Linked DNA regions of Homo sapiens: all the other regions are linked to region 4. The links are contacts of gene promoters, found by promoter capture Hi-C in blood cells and fetal thymus (Javierre and others, 2016). All regions are on one chromosome and are shown on one strand. The core of a region is centred on a gene start or on the middle of the fragment in contact, and the rest is flanking DNA. Distances in the headings are between cores, read along the strand shown.

Evidence for each region. Contacts are between HindIII fragments. The CHiCAGO score rates a contact against its expected background, and 5 or more counts as called.
Region 1: a fragment that was not itself captured here is called in contact with the fragment with the promoter of DNAJC2 in region 4 in 7 of 17 cell types (naive CD8 T cells, erythroblasts, endothelial precursors and 4 more); the score reaches 7.1 in naive CD8 T cells.
Region 2: a fragment that was not itself captured here is called in contact with the fragment with the promoter of DNAJC2 in region 4 in 1 of 17 cell types (fetal thymus); the score reaches 6.2 in fetal thymus.
Region 3: a fragment that was not itself captured here is called in contact with the fragment with the promoter of DNAJC2 in region 4 in 5 of 17 cell types (naive CD8 T cells, naive CD4 T cells, fetal thymus and 2 more); the score reaches 8.5 in naive CD8 T cells.
Region 5: a contact is called between a fragment that was not itself captured here and the fragment with the promoter of DNAJC2 in region 4, in 2 of 17 cell types (naive CD8 T cells and activated CD4 T cells). The highest score is 5.5, in naive CD8 T cells.

What each region holds. Positions count from the first base shown.
Region 1 is chr7:104,186,254-104,188,953 of GRCh38, forward strand. ORC5 (origin recognition complex subunit 5) reads right to left here. Exons shown (of 14, transcript NM_002553.4): 6 at 1,998-2,128. Among named protein-coding and RNA genes, the nearest start is that of ORC5, 20 kb to the right of the region's middle. The HindIII fragment of the contact is 539 bases long and covers 1,008-1,546 here.
Region 2 is chr7:102,747,972-102,750,720 of GRCh38, forward strand. FAM185A (family with sequence similarity 185 member A) reads left to right here and starts at 1,028. Exons shown (of 8, transcript NM_001145268.2): 1 at 1,028-1,687. The coding sequence starts at 1,237. It also overlaps the pseudogene RASA4DP. RefSeq lists silencers at 718-807, 848-1,017 and an enhancer at 751-1,045. The HindIII fragment of the contact is 1,652 bases long and covers 557-2,208 here.
Region 3 is chr7:104,153,660-104,156,359 of GRCh38, forward strand. All of the region lies in intron 12 of ORC5 (origin recognition complex subunit 5), which reads right to left. Among named protein-coding and RNA genes, the nearest start is that of ORC5, 53 kb to the right of the region's middle. The HindIII fragment of the contact is 9,851 bases long and covers 1-2,700 here.
Region 4 is chr7:103,343,354-103,346,053 of GRCh38, forward strand. It overlaps DNAJC2 (DnaJ heat shock protein family (Hsp40) member C2), which reads right to left and starts at 1,414. Exons shown (of 17, transcript NM_014377.3): 1 at 1,206-1,414. The coding sequence starts at 1,269. It also overlaps a transcript of PMPCB not described here. RefSeq lists an enhancer at 1,357-1,596. The HindIII fragment of the contact is 5,590 bases long and covers 829-2,700 here.
Region 5 is chr7:104,169,629-104,172,328 of GRCh38, forward strand. All of the region lies in intron 8 of ORC5 (origin recognition complex subunit 5), which reads right to left. Among named protein-coding and RNA genes, the nearest start is that of ORC5, 37 kb to the right of the region's middle. The HindIII fragment of the contact is 2,228 bases long and covers 282-2,509 here.

The DNA.
Region 1 (2,700 bases), core at 27-2,526, 840 kb after region 4:
AAAACAGTACTCAGGGAATACAAAACCCATGTATATGGAGGGCTAACTTTTTTACACTCAGGTTCTGCGGAGTTGATCGCAGGGTTTGAGTGTGCTAGGATTTTGATATATATGGGACTGGTCCTGGAACCAATCCCCCAAGTATACCAAGGGGCAACTGTATTGATTTTCTCTTTGGTTGAAACACTAAAATATGTTTAATAATTTATGAATAACAGTTAAAAAGGCAGTATCATAAGGTTTGTTAGAGAAAACAAACCTAAATGAATATCAAAGTAGTACTTCATTTTCTCCTATCTTAAGCTACCTATAGAACTAGCCTCTGAAAAATACAGAAATATCAATTCATAAAGCATCTTTCCAGAAAAGATCCCTGAAAAGAATATTTTTCAGGTGATTTAATAAACTTTCAAGAAATATGCCACTTACAAACTTTGAAACAAACACAAACAACACTATCTGAAGAAAAAAAAGAAAATGAATATCTTTATTCTTCCATGTTCTATATATAGAGAAAACTAAGAACATTGTGCTATTTTTCTCTAATGTTTAAGGATCCTTTTCTCTATTATTACCAATAGTAGTATAAGACTTAAACCATACTACACATTTATGAATATTATTTTTTAAAAAGCTGTAACCTCACCCTAAATAAAATCATTCCACAGTGAAACTCGAAGAACTTTAAAAAATACCACATTTAAATATATATTTCTCTCTTTACATTTTATTTTCCCATAAATATTTTCCCTAAATTTTTCCTTCTTGTACTTTATAATCTACTTTGAAATGGCTGTCAGCACAGATTCCCACAGGATTCGAGTGCTAAAGAGTGGTAACTGCAAGTTACTTTCCAGGAAAGACCGAGGAGGATTATCTGCTCCTAAGTCCATCTCACTCAGGTGCGTTTTCCTGACCCTCTCCTCTCTGTAAGTCTCTTGTGTTATCATTTCCCTCAGAAGCCAGGGATCCCAAGACATCCAACTTCTAGAGGAATGTTAGTGATAAGCTTGAACTGGAAAAACTGTTTTGTTTTTTCCCAGCTGAGAAGATGTCTGAAATCTACATGTAAATCAGAGGAGCCCTGAAATCTGAAACTTTCAAAAACATACTAAATGTGAGCATAATTTTAAATGATTGCCTTCTGTGTTCTGTCGCAAACACACACTGAAACTAAGTAATACTTTTCAGGGCAAAAACAGAAAAAGAACAAAGTGAAGAAAATGTGCTAAGAGACATAGAATCTGTTACTTTGAAAGTGACTGTTTTCCAGCCTCAGATATATTACTATTTTCTGTTAAATGGAGATAAGATCTTAATTAATTGAAGATTTCTAAAAGGGAAAACAGAAATTCTTGTCTCTTTCCTTTCCCATCCCTACAATTAAAACAAAAAAGGTCAAAGAAAAATTAAACATCAACATTTTCCAAACTGTCTATGAAATATAAACAGCTATTCTAATTGTTAAAAAAAAAAAATTAAAAAGAACCATCTATACAAAGATTACCAGCTCAGGGTCAGTGGTTAATGAAAGACCTGCAATGAAAGCTTCTGACCATACTCAAATCCATCTAGATTCTAGACCTCAATCACCGCATACATAAAACTTGAACAAAATCTGTTACAAAATATTAACAGAGTTGTAAAACTGCTCAAGTTTTTACATCTCTTTTCTGTTATTCCTCATTTTGATTTTTATGGAGTTCTGCATTTTCTGCAATTAGAGAAAAAACAAGGAAGAGTAAGAAGATCTGAGAATGACATTTTTCTGATCAGATCAAACAATCAAAGTTTGTACTAACCCACAGACATCTACCTTCTTATGGTATGTTAGTCTCTAGAGGCCATATGCAAATTCCCAGAATAAAATTTCAGTTTCTAACCTATCTCATACCATTTCTACATGGAAAACATTAAAATACATATATACACATATATGTATACACACACACACACACACACACATATATATATATTCAAGCAAAATGTTCATTTACCAGATGTCTGAGCTCTTTCAAATCTCGACAAACAGTGTAGAAAACTCCAAGAAGAATGTTAATGTAGGCAGCATAGAAATCAGCTGAATACTCTGGAGGATGATCATGGGACAGGATCTTTTGAAGGTTGCCTGTTCACAGGACACAAAATAACTTATAATGATTAACATAGTACACTAATCATATCTTCAAGCATTTTATAACAAAGGTATTAAAAAAAAAACACCCAGACCCAGCAACAATTAAGGAATAATAAAACTATTACAAGATTAGAATACAAAAGTGTGATTTGTGATATAATAAAAAATATATATTTGATCTTCACTGCAGTTCCTGGCACAGAGCTTCTAAAAACCCTCATAATTCCCTGAATGAGAAGGATAAGAGGAGTATCTTTTGTTACTCATAATAAGTCCTTTTAAAACATACCTCAATTTATACTAATGAGGTGTTTCTTGATGGGTGATATGGTTTGGCTCTGTGTCCCCACCCATATCTCATTTGAAATTTTCAGTGGAGGAGGGGCCTCGTGGGAGGTGATTGAATCATGAGGCAGACTTCCCCCTAGCTGTTCTTGTGATAGAGTTCTCATGAGATCTGGTTGTTTCAAAGTGTGCAGCACTTCCCCCTTCATGCTCTCTCTCCTGCTGGCCATGTGAAGATGTGTTTGCTTCCCCTTCACCTTCCACCATGATTCCAAGTT
Region 2 (2,749 bases), core at 133-2,632, 600 kb before region 4:
AAAGAAACAGGTCTAGGTGACACAGATGAAGCAGTGGCAGAGCCAGGAAAATAACCTGACCCTTGTCCCTGCTCTTTCCACCGCACCATGGTGACTCTCTTTTTTGTGTCTTTTTTTTTTTTTTCACTCTAAAACTGAGGATCATTTGTAGTCAAAGAGATCAATGCTATTCTCAAAACAAGTTCTGATCTCTCATAATTTTCTTGGTAACTCAGAATCAATGTTAAGTACGTTGAAATAAAAATACAGTTCTTTACACGGTAATTTTGTAGACTGTGCACCACGGTCCCATCCATTTTCTTACTTGATCCTTACAAAAACCCTTTGAGGCAAGGCAAGGAAGGTATTATTATCTACATTTTTAAAGTGAGCAAATTAAAACCCAAAGTAAGGTCACTTAGGGTCAGGACGGAGCAAGTACTCTATTCCTATATTTGGAATATAGGAGGGAATACACTTCCAAAGAGGCAATTCCCTCAAAAAGCACCAATCTTGCTCTTTACTTTCTTACCAAGGCATTCTCCATGCCCTGGAGATGCCCTCACTAAGTTAGTGAAGCTTGGATGTTGACATCCACAGAGGTTACTCCTAGTTTGCACCTAGTTGTCATCTTAAAAAGCGCAGTTTCTTACCCCTTCCCTTGGTCCTGATCCTTATTTAGGCTCCTATTTTTCTCTTTGGGATTTGGCGTCCTGGGTCTCACTCCAAAGCTCCACCCTCTCCAACCAAGAAGTCGCGTGCTTGGTATCCAAGGTGACCACGCAGCTTTACCCGCGTTGCCCCTTCCGTGCTTCCCATTGGCCAGTGGACTCCCATGTACCGCCCCTCCAATAGCCAATGGTCTTGAGACAAAGGGCGCCCGCCTTTCCAGCGATTCTAACACCTACCCTCTTACCCGTGCTCCCCTGCGCATTGCCTCCTGGGAAATGTGGTTTCTAAGAGGCAGAGCTCTGCGACTTAGAACTACCTATCCCGTCGGCCTTAGCGAAAGGGGGTGGACTTAGGCAAGGGGTCCAGGTCAGAGTTTAGAGCTTTCAAATCCCAACTTGCCCCTGGGGATTGCGCGGCTGATGTTTAGAACGCCTAGTCAAGCCAACCGGCTCGCTCTTGTTTCAGCAAACCCTGACTTACGTCTCCTATTTGACTTGAGGCGGCACAGTGGCCAAGTCGATTGGCCGTGGCAAGTGACCCTCCCTGTGGCTGAAGTGTTCTGAGGACTGGCGAGAGAGGCGCGCCATGCTTGCCCCCTGCTCAGGTTGGGAGCTTGGCTGCTTCCGTCTCTGTCTCCGTCAGGTCCGACTGTGGGCTGGCGCTGGGCGCTGGGCTTGCTGGGCTTGCCAAGCCAGGCCGTACAGCTCAGGTGGGAGCGAGCGCTGGCCCGGATCGGAGACTGAGGTCCCTCCGCCTGGCCCGGGGCGCCGAACTCTGAAGGAGTGGACACTGCAGGTGAGCCCGTTTGGTCGGCTGCGGGCGCGGCTCCCGTGCCACCTGGCCGTGAGGCCCCTGGACCCCCTCACCTACCCGGATGGCGACCGCGTGCTGGTCGCGGTGTGCGGCGTGGAGGGCGGCGTGCGGGGCCTGGACGGCCTGCAGGTGAAGTACGACGAGGATCTGGAGGAGATGGCCATTGTGTCTGATACTATCCACCCCCAGGCGTCCGTGGAGGTGAACGCGCCCCTGAAGTTTGGCAAGTGAAGTGAAGTGAAAACGGGTTTGGGTCCCAGGGAACGCACAGTGAACTTAATAAATGTGGTCGACGTGCACTTTTAATTGGTCCTGGCTCTCTAAACCTAATTTACAGTTGGCCCCTTCGGAAATGCACCTTTTCCTCTGTTCTGTTCTTGAGTGTCCGAGTAGTATTTAAAAATTAGGTTCCCAATTATAGAAATTTTATACATCGAATGGAAACATGATTTGGTATAATCCAGGTCAAATTCTATTTCTGGAGCCGCTTGTGTTCTCCTTTATCCCGTTGTCATTAGCAAACTGGCTTATTTTTCAAGGTTGAAGTTTCTTGACAATTCATTCAATGGTATGGCAGTCCATCTACATTTCATCTTGCTCACAGCCTGGGGGTCTGTCCCAAAACAGCCCTGTCAATAGGATGTTCCGGGTATCACCTGGTTTGAGTATTTGGTTTTAGACGGGCGCCCAGCTTCTTACTGTTATATTTCCATTCTTTTTGGCCTAAGTTTTCCATGAGTAGCAAGCTTTGAAGAAAAACACATGGTAAGCCTGCCTAGGAAGCTTCAATAATAATGCCTGCAAGATACCTTTCTTAGCTTTTCCTAAATGGCAAGCCACTGTGTACACACACTTTTCTAGGAAGGGCTCCCCAGACTGTCATTCTTCCTGGGACTGATGGAAGATATTGATGATGATGATGATAGTAATAATAATAGCATTTAGCATTTTTAAGATCATCTTTTATAATGCTTAGAGTTGCCCAAATAGTAGATGCCGTAGTCCTCCCTTATCCACCGTTTGGCTGTCTCAGTTTGTTACCTGCCTCAGCTGTTGTAGGAAAATATTAAGATATTTTGACAGATCACAGTAATATAACTTTTATTACAGTATATTGTTATAATTGCTGTATTTGTTATTATTGTTCATCTCTTACTATGCCTAGTTTATAAATTAAACTTGATCATTGATATGTATACAGGAAAAAACATAGAATATATAGGATTTGGTACTATTTGTGGTTTCAGGAATCAAGTGGGGGGGCGGGTCTTGCCTACTTTAAGAG
Region 3 (2,700 bases), core at 107-2,606, 810 kb after region 4:
AAGAGCTCTTCACGTTTCTAATAATTTAGTATCCATGGAATTTTAAGGAAAACTGTCCCTTTTAGTCACCAAGTTTAATGTCTATAAAGATAATGCCCACACTCAAATCAATTTATATAAATATCTTACAGCTAGATTTTAGGATGTTACTCTTTATGTCTACAAAATTCAAATTGTTACCTGATCAATAAATGGATTAGATATTTTTATCTACTAGATTTCTAGTGTTATCTGACTAGCGTTTAATGAATGTAGCTACTTTTTGTAGAAATATAAATATTATGTAATATGCAAATTAACTTTTAAGGTAAAGAAATTTTATCATAAAGTCTTCATAAAATTTATTTAAAGTGCTTTTGGTTAAAAATCTATAAAAGCAGTTTGAAATAATGTATATTAAAAAAGGACATGAGTATAATTTTCCATTATGAAGTATTTCAAATATAGCCATGTAACTTTTTAAGAAAAGCCACTCAGACTGTATATACTAGGCCATATACAATATACTGATTACTTCTCCATAACTTAAGTTCCAAGTCTTGAGATTGTCTGACACCAATGTCATAACTAAATTTAATTGGGTATTAACAAAATTTAGTTATAAATATCAATCATTGCTTCAAACACTAAGTTCAAGGCATGTCAGAAGGAAATATTCAACAAACAGGTTTGTTATGACTCAGTAGAAAACACTTAAATATCTAAGTTATAAAATATTAAGAACTACTTAAGTAAAAAACTCTTATTTATTCACTTTAAGTACTTATTAGTATTCACTTTAAGTATTTAAGTATTAGTTCCTTCAGCACATATATGTCTTCACAGTAAATACATATATACACCATTAACTCTAAACATATAAAATAGAATCTGGTGGCTGCACCAGCACAAATGAAGGGCTGTGGAATCCACAGACACATCTTCATTTCTGTATTCTCTTTATCCAAGACAATGCCTGAAACATAGTAGACACTTAGTAAATATTTGTTAAATGAAATTTTAAGCAGAGAAAGATAAATTTAATTCCAACCATGGAAAAAAAATAAACACTGACTTTGAACTTGAAATGTGAATTAGATTAAAATATTTTTATTTATAAACGTTTTAGAATTAAATAAAAATTAACAACGTCTCCTCTTTAGAAAACTGAAAACTATATAAATTTACCACATATCTACCTGTATTTGAAGAAATATGCCAAAATCTATTTTTGGTGTAATAAAACGTTAGCTACCTTAACAAGTACAGTATAGCAAAAACATCTTCCTACAGCTATGGTGAATTACAGATGAAGTATTTGCTAAAAAAAAAATTTTCATAGATGAAACAACTAAATTATCATTCTGCTTTCTGACTGATGATAAATTCATTTGAGAAAAACAATTGGTTTGGATATATCCTACATATCTTATAAAACAACACCTAAATGAGTAGTAAGGTTGTCTAAATGCTATTACAATAAATAAAACCTCCGTAAGAAACGATTGTTGATTCATGACCAATAAGTTAAATCGATGTAACAAATAACTCCAAGTGTATCCATAGTATCATGACATGAGTTCATAAGCAGAGAAGGTACAAACAGAAAAGGTATATATTTGTATATTAAACTATGCTACAAAATGTTTATGTTCTTATAAATGAAAATAAATTTGCAAAAACACTCTAAATTTTTTATTATGTACAACTAAGTATGAAACCACTCAGAAATTAGGTATTAATTATGGAAAAATCCAACTTGTCAATATGGTACACAGAACTATTTTTTAAAAAGAACTATGCTCCTTTTCTAATCTTTCAGCTGTTTCTTGGTATTAATTCAGAATACATTATTTTATAATATAGTAATATTATTAAAATAAAACCTTTTAAATGGCAGAATTATAGTAAACTACTTTCAAAAATTATTTTCCAAAATGCAAATTGATCGAAGCAGATCAATGAAAATTAAAACATATTCCTTTTACAAGTCACTTTAGAAACCTATACCAATGATTTTAGAAATAAACTCTCCAGCAATTTTATTCTCTGGGAAAAAAATAAAGCAATATGGCTTTGAGATTTTAAAATAAGTGGTATCTCTGATAATCTTAAAGAACTGTACTCCTATTGCTCTGACCTAACTACAAGAGTATTTGGGTAGGGGAGGTAAGAATGAGTAAGAGGAGACATAGAACTATAAAAAGAATGAAACAGATAATTCGGAAATTCCCATATTTTTTTCTTTTAAGAAAAAAAGAATTAAAAAGCATAACTTGGCTTTAATATATTTCTGGAAAAAAAGACAATACTATTTCTTTAAAAGCTGACAAATGGTCTTCAAAATCATAACTGATCAAATTAAAAATTTAGAAAGAATACCTATAAACTTTACCCATTTACTGCATGTATTCCATTCTATCTTATGATGAGAGCAGAAAGGAAAGGAGAAAAGAATGAAATACCAGAATTAATGCTTTGTCACCCATGAAGTTCAGGCATACATAGAAGGGCTACATTTATCTTACTGGAATGAAAATTTTAAAAATGACCCAAGATAATGACTGCAAAATTGTACTAAAGGTAAAAACCAGGTAAGACTAAAATAATAATCTAAAAAAAAATTTAAAGTCATATTTAAGTTCAATAAATCTGAACATTAACATAAAATGTTAAATGTGCTACTATTCTCTTCACTTACTTGTGAGACTAATGAATAGA
Region 4 (2,700 bases), core at 164-2,663:
AGAATTCACTAACAAGAATTTGTCCTGAAAGCAATTTTCCAAGCAGCAAATGGGAATTTACTAATGCAGCTAAGCTGTAGTGGAACAAGCTCTCAATCTGAAACCAGACACTCTGGGTTTTAGACTAGGTCTGACAGTGGCTATGTGACCTGAAATGAATCAGGATGTCTTCACCTGTAAAATGGGAACAATACCTATTTATCTCATTCAGTTCCTAGGAAGCTTGAATGAGACCACAGAAACTCTCTGAAATTACAAACTTGTAGTAAAGGTATCATCTATTCCTGGGAAGTGGGGGTAAATCACTGTACATGTGTATACTAGCAATTCAAAAAAGGAAAATCCCTGAACAACTTATTTTAAGATTTCCTCCACCTTACACAGGAGAGGATTAAAACACTGTCAAAAAGGTACTACCTGTGTAGTATGGGTGTGTGGCTTTTAAGAACACTGCCTTTTAAGCCTTTTGCTCTAGTTGTAAGAGGCACACGGAGACACATAAATGCAACACGTGCCATGGGTTATGTTCAAAATCACATTCAACAAGCGCCTATGTGACTGGCTATGGGAATTACTGTAGATCACTGGACCTGAAGACTCTTAAGTTTACAATACTCATGACTGTCCTGGGCCATAAAACTAAAACCTACAGCAGCAGGACAAGTTTCACTTGTAATAACTGCCTTTCAAAGTCTACGCGGATCTTTTCAGCAGCACAGTCTTTGAACACCGAGTATGAGGAGCGGTGTCTGAGTTGTGACATTTAAAAAACAAGGCCGGAGCAAACGTAGAGAGGGAGAAAGTTGTTTAAGAGAGCGCCAGTAGCAAAGCTTTGTACGACCCCAGGCACGTGGGGTGCTCGCTGCGCGTAGTCTTTCCACCGTAGGCAAGGAGATGCTTATGAGAACCTTTCTGGGGTGCTGGGGGGTTCCGTCCCGAAATGCTCAGCCCAATCCATGAGTCAGCAGCGGCGAGAGGAGGAAGCAACGGTAGGAGCAAAAGGAAGGCACCCCTCACCCTCCTTCCTTCTAATCTAGGGTAGGATTACTTTAAAACACGGAGCAAAAAGGCACTCGTCACGGCCCCATACGGCCCCGGGGCTAGTCGCCAGGGTCAAGGGTAGAGAGAGCCCAGGGTTGCCGAGGCGGAGGACTGAGGCAGGGGCAGCTGAGGTGAGAAGGAACCGAGGTTGGGTGGGCACTTACCAGAGGTCAGAGCGTGGGTGATGGCGGTGCCCCGGCCGTCCGCGGCGCTTGGCAGAAGCAGCATGATGGCGCCGGGTCTAGCCCGGTGGGCGCAGCGGCTCACGTCCCGGGCGGAGGGCGCTTAGGGTCCCCTCCAGCTCTACCTCTCACTCCGAGCCTCGCGCCTTGGCTCTAAGACGCCCAGGAACCGGCGCATGGAGACGACCAGTAAGCACTTCCGGGATGGATCTTTCGTGGTGTGGAGGCCAGTCTCACACCCTCCCACCCCCGCCAACGTGTGCGGTAACCTAGTTCTATACTGACTGAGATCCGGCTGGAGACCAAGTCGCACGAGAGAATGGTTCCTAGGCGCATCAGTTTTCCTGTAAAAAGGATTATATTCCACGTCCCAGTGCAATACATAGAACATAACCTTTAAAAGCAGTTCTTTTTATATTATCTTTAAGTTCTTACTGCTTTATGTATTAATCTGAACCTAATCAGTGATTTTCCCAGGAGCGCTATACTTTTAAGTAAAAAATGAAAATACCTGTATGAACCAGTATCGACGACTAGTATATACATTTGCGGAGAATTACGTACGTGTATTTGTGATACATTTGTGTTTAACTTGATGATGATAATAGCAGCTAATATTTGTCGTGCTATTACTAATTTACCTGCATTATATCTTTTAATACTCGCTTGGAGAAGAAACCTCTCTCTAGTGTGTTAGATTGTATTCCAAGGCCAGCAATATTTTTACCTTGTTCTAATGAAGTTTTTATTCAAGATATTCCCAATTATAGGACTCTGGGACTTAATTTTTTAATGTATAATAAAATCAATTGTATTCCTACTATATGCTTCCTTCTAAGACTGCAGTCAAAAGCAAAAACTAGCAAAAACAAACAGTGGGTAAAGGCTCACCCCCAACAGCAGTATCTGAAACAGGTTCAATAAAATAAACTTGATATGCCACTCTTTAGCAAGGACCACCAGAAATTAGTAAATTAGAAAATAACTTACTAATTTCATTATATTTTCACAATTAAAGTTTTTAAATATATTATATATATATATATGTATATTTTTTTTTGTAGAGACAGGGTCTCACTATGTTGCCCAAGGTGGTCTTGAACTCCTGGCCTCAAGGGATCCTCCTGCCTCAGTCTCCCAAAACTCTGGGATTAGAGGCGTGAGTCACTGTGCCAGGCCAATTAAATACATTTAATTGGTCTGTATATCTGCTGCATGATAAAATTGTCACTTCAAAACTGACTTTTCAAAAATTGAACTAAGGGAGGCTGAGGTGGGAAGATCGTTGAGGCCGGGAGGTGGAGGTTGCAGTGAGCTGAGATCACACCATTGCGCTCCAGCCTGGGTAACAGTGAGACCCCGTCTTTAAAAAAAAAAAAATTGAACTAATCTTCTGCCCCAAAACCTCTTCCTGATCCCTACTAATGCAACCACTGTTAAAACATGCTCCAAGGTGCAAAGTAACCTGACTCCACTT
Region 5 (2,700 bases), core at 146-2,645, 830 kb after region 4:
ACAATTAAATATCCAAAATCTGCATGAAGAACAGGGTGGAAGTGATAAGGATGAGTGTGGGCCTTCTTTGAGTATACTTTAAAAAAAGTAGTTTTAGCTTTTGAAGTATTCTTTGATGCCCATCTCTCACCTGTATAGCAATCAACAAGTTTAATTTTCCCCTTTCTCTTTTCCTTCTTTTCCCAATTTTTAAGTTGTAATATTCCTACCTTGTCAGAATACATAATATTTACATACTATTCTTCTACTCTTATTTCCACCTTAATTTTAGTTTGGAGCTAAGCTTAATTAAATTCAATGTTCATCATCAATCCTTTTGTTAGTTTCTCCAGTCATCTCTTTTTCACATCAAGGTCGTCCTAAGAAATGTCTTATGAGTAGTGTTCTCTGAGTTCTTCCATGTTTAATATTGTTTTTCTCTAGCCTTGATAGTTCAATGACAGGTTTGACTGAACATAAAATTATTTGGCTTACACTTCCTTTCTCCTTGAGTTTCTTGAAATTGTTGATCCATTTGTTTCACTTTTTCACTGACTTTCCTTTGTAAGTGACTTTTATTTTTTGCCTGAAAGCTCAGAGGTTTTTTTCTGTTATTTTTAAAGTCTAAATGCTTTCCAAGAAGTCTCTGTAGTAGGCTGAATAATGGCTCTGCCTCCAAAGATACCAAAGTCCAAATCCCTAGAACATGTGAATACATTCTTATGGGGTAAAAGGGACTTAGCAGATGTGACTGAGTTAAGGATCTTCAGATAGACATTACACTGCATTATCCAGATAGGCCCAATAGAGTCAGAAGGATCCTTCTAAGAGGAAGACAAGTCAGAGAGAAGAGAAAATGCTACACTGCTAGCTTAGAAGATGGAGAATGGAACCACAAGCCAGGGAATGAAGGCAGCCTCTAGAAGTTAGAAAAGGCAAAGAAATAGATTCTCCTTGAGAACCTCCAGAAGAAAAGCCCTGTGGACCTGTTTTAGACTTCTGACATACAAAACTGTAAGACAGTAACTATGTGTTGTCCTAAATCACTAAATTTCTGATAATTTGTTACAGTACAATATACTAGTACAGTTTCAGAATTGATCATTCTGGATTAATTGGGAAAATGAACTGTTTTAATGTGTAAAGCTAGGTCTTCTATTTCTGGAACGTTTTCTTGGATTATAATTTTAGATCTTAACTCCAATCCATTGTTCTTTTCTGTCTTCAGGAGCTCCAATTAAATATATGTTAAATCTTCTTTGTCTATCATATTTGTCACATCCTACCTGATTATTTTTACCTCTTTTTTTAGTTTTGTTCTCTTGATTATTTTCAGTCCTTTCCTCAATGTCTCTTACTATATTCTCAGTTGAATCTACTTTCCTTTGGATATCTTATTTTTTCATTTTCATTTCTGAGATAACTACTATTGCCTGAACTTTGCTCCTGAGTTTGATCAACTTTTATTTCACATCCCCCTGTTCTTTGTCCATTTATTCTAAGTTATTGAATTTCAAACTTAAAGAATGCTTTCCATACCTGAAAATGCTTTTTAAACAAACCTAAACCAAGTAAAGGTGTGGTATTGCAGTCTTCCTCTGCTTTGTTTTGGGTGTTAAGGGGGAAATGTTCATCAACTAAACTGTTTTATTCACATTTTCTGTTTCTTCCTAAATAATACCTTTACATGGCTTTTCCATGTTGTCTTTTATTCATTTTGAAATACCTAATGTTTGGCTTGGTCAGTAATAACAGGTGACTTTATGAATGCAGGGGTAAGGTTGCGGAATGGCACAATTACTTAATTCTAAAGTGCTCCCTTCTGGAAAAATAATGAAGTCAAGTTTCTTTAATATATGGTGCTATTATGAAAAGGAGGGATTAGCTTCTGATTTTGTCATTTCTTTTTTATTTGGGGGATGAGAGGAATCTTTAATTTCTATCCTTTCTTTCCATTCTTTTCCTTCATTACCAACTCTCAAAGGAATACCACACCCTTCTGAATCAACTACTTGTCTCTCCTCAAAACAGTACTTTCCCAAGACTATCATGCTAACTCTGGCCCCCATACTCTTAAAACAAAAAAAATACAAAAAATTAGACAGGTGTGGTGGCGCATGCCTATAGTCCCAGCTACTCGGGAGGCTCAGGTGGTAGGATCACCTGGACCTAGGGAGGTTGAGGCTGCTATGAGCTGTGATCTTGCCACTGCACTCCAGCCTGGACGAGACAATGGGACCCTGTCTCAAAAAAACAAAAAAACAAAAAACAAAATGTCACTTTGATTCTCCAGTAGCCAGTGCTCTAATCCTTCCAGCCTCAGAACTGTTCAATACTTTCTCACTCAGGGTTGAACTCTCTTTCTTCAAGTAATTTCATTTGTATTTCACCACTACTAGTCAACGTATCCCTTGTCCCAACAATCTTCTCTTTTCCTTTCAGTCTTTGTTTGACTTTTCACCTCAGCATGAGCTCCAGAGCTGGCCCTGTTGGTTTCAGTTGTTTACTTCACTACTGGTATATAAAATGAAGCTTGTAGCAATCTCTAACTCCTGTTAATACAGCAGGCAAGAGTTATGGGTGGTTCTATTAGCTCTCTTTATTGATATTGTGGACACAATTGAATTTAGGTGGCCATAATTATCCTATGGGACTAGAAGTCCTTTCATTATTATGTAAGAATCATTTTAACAAGCAAACAAGTTTTCCTACATTTAGAAG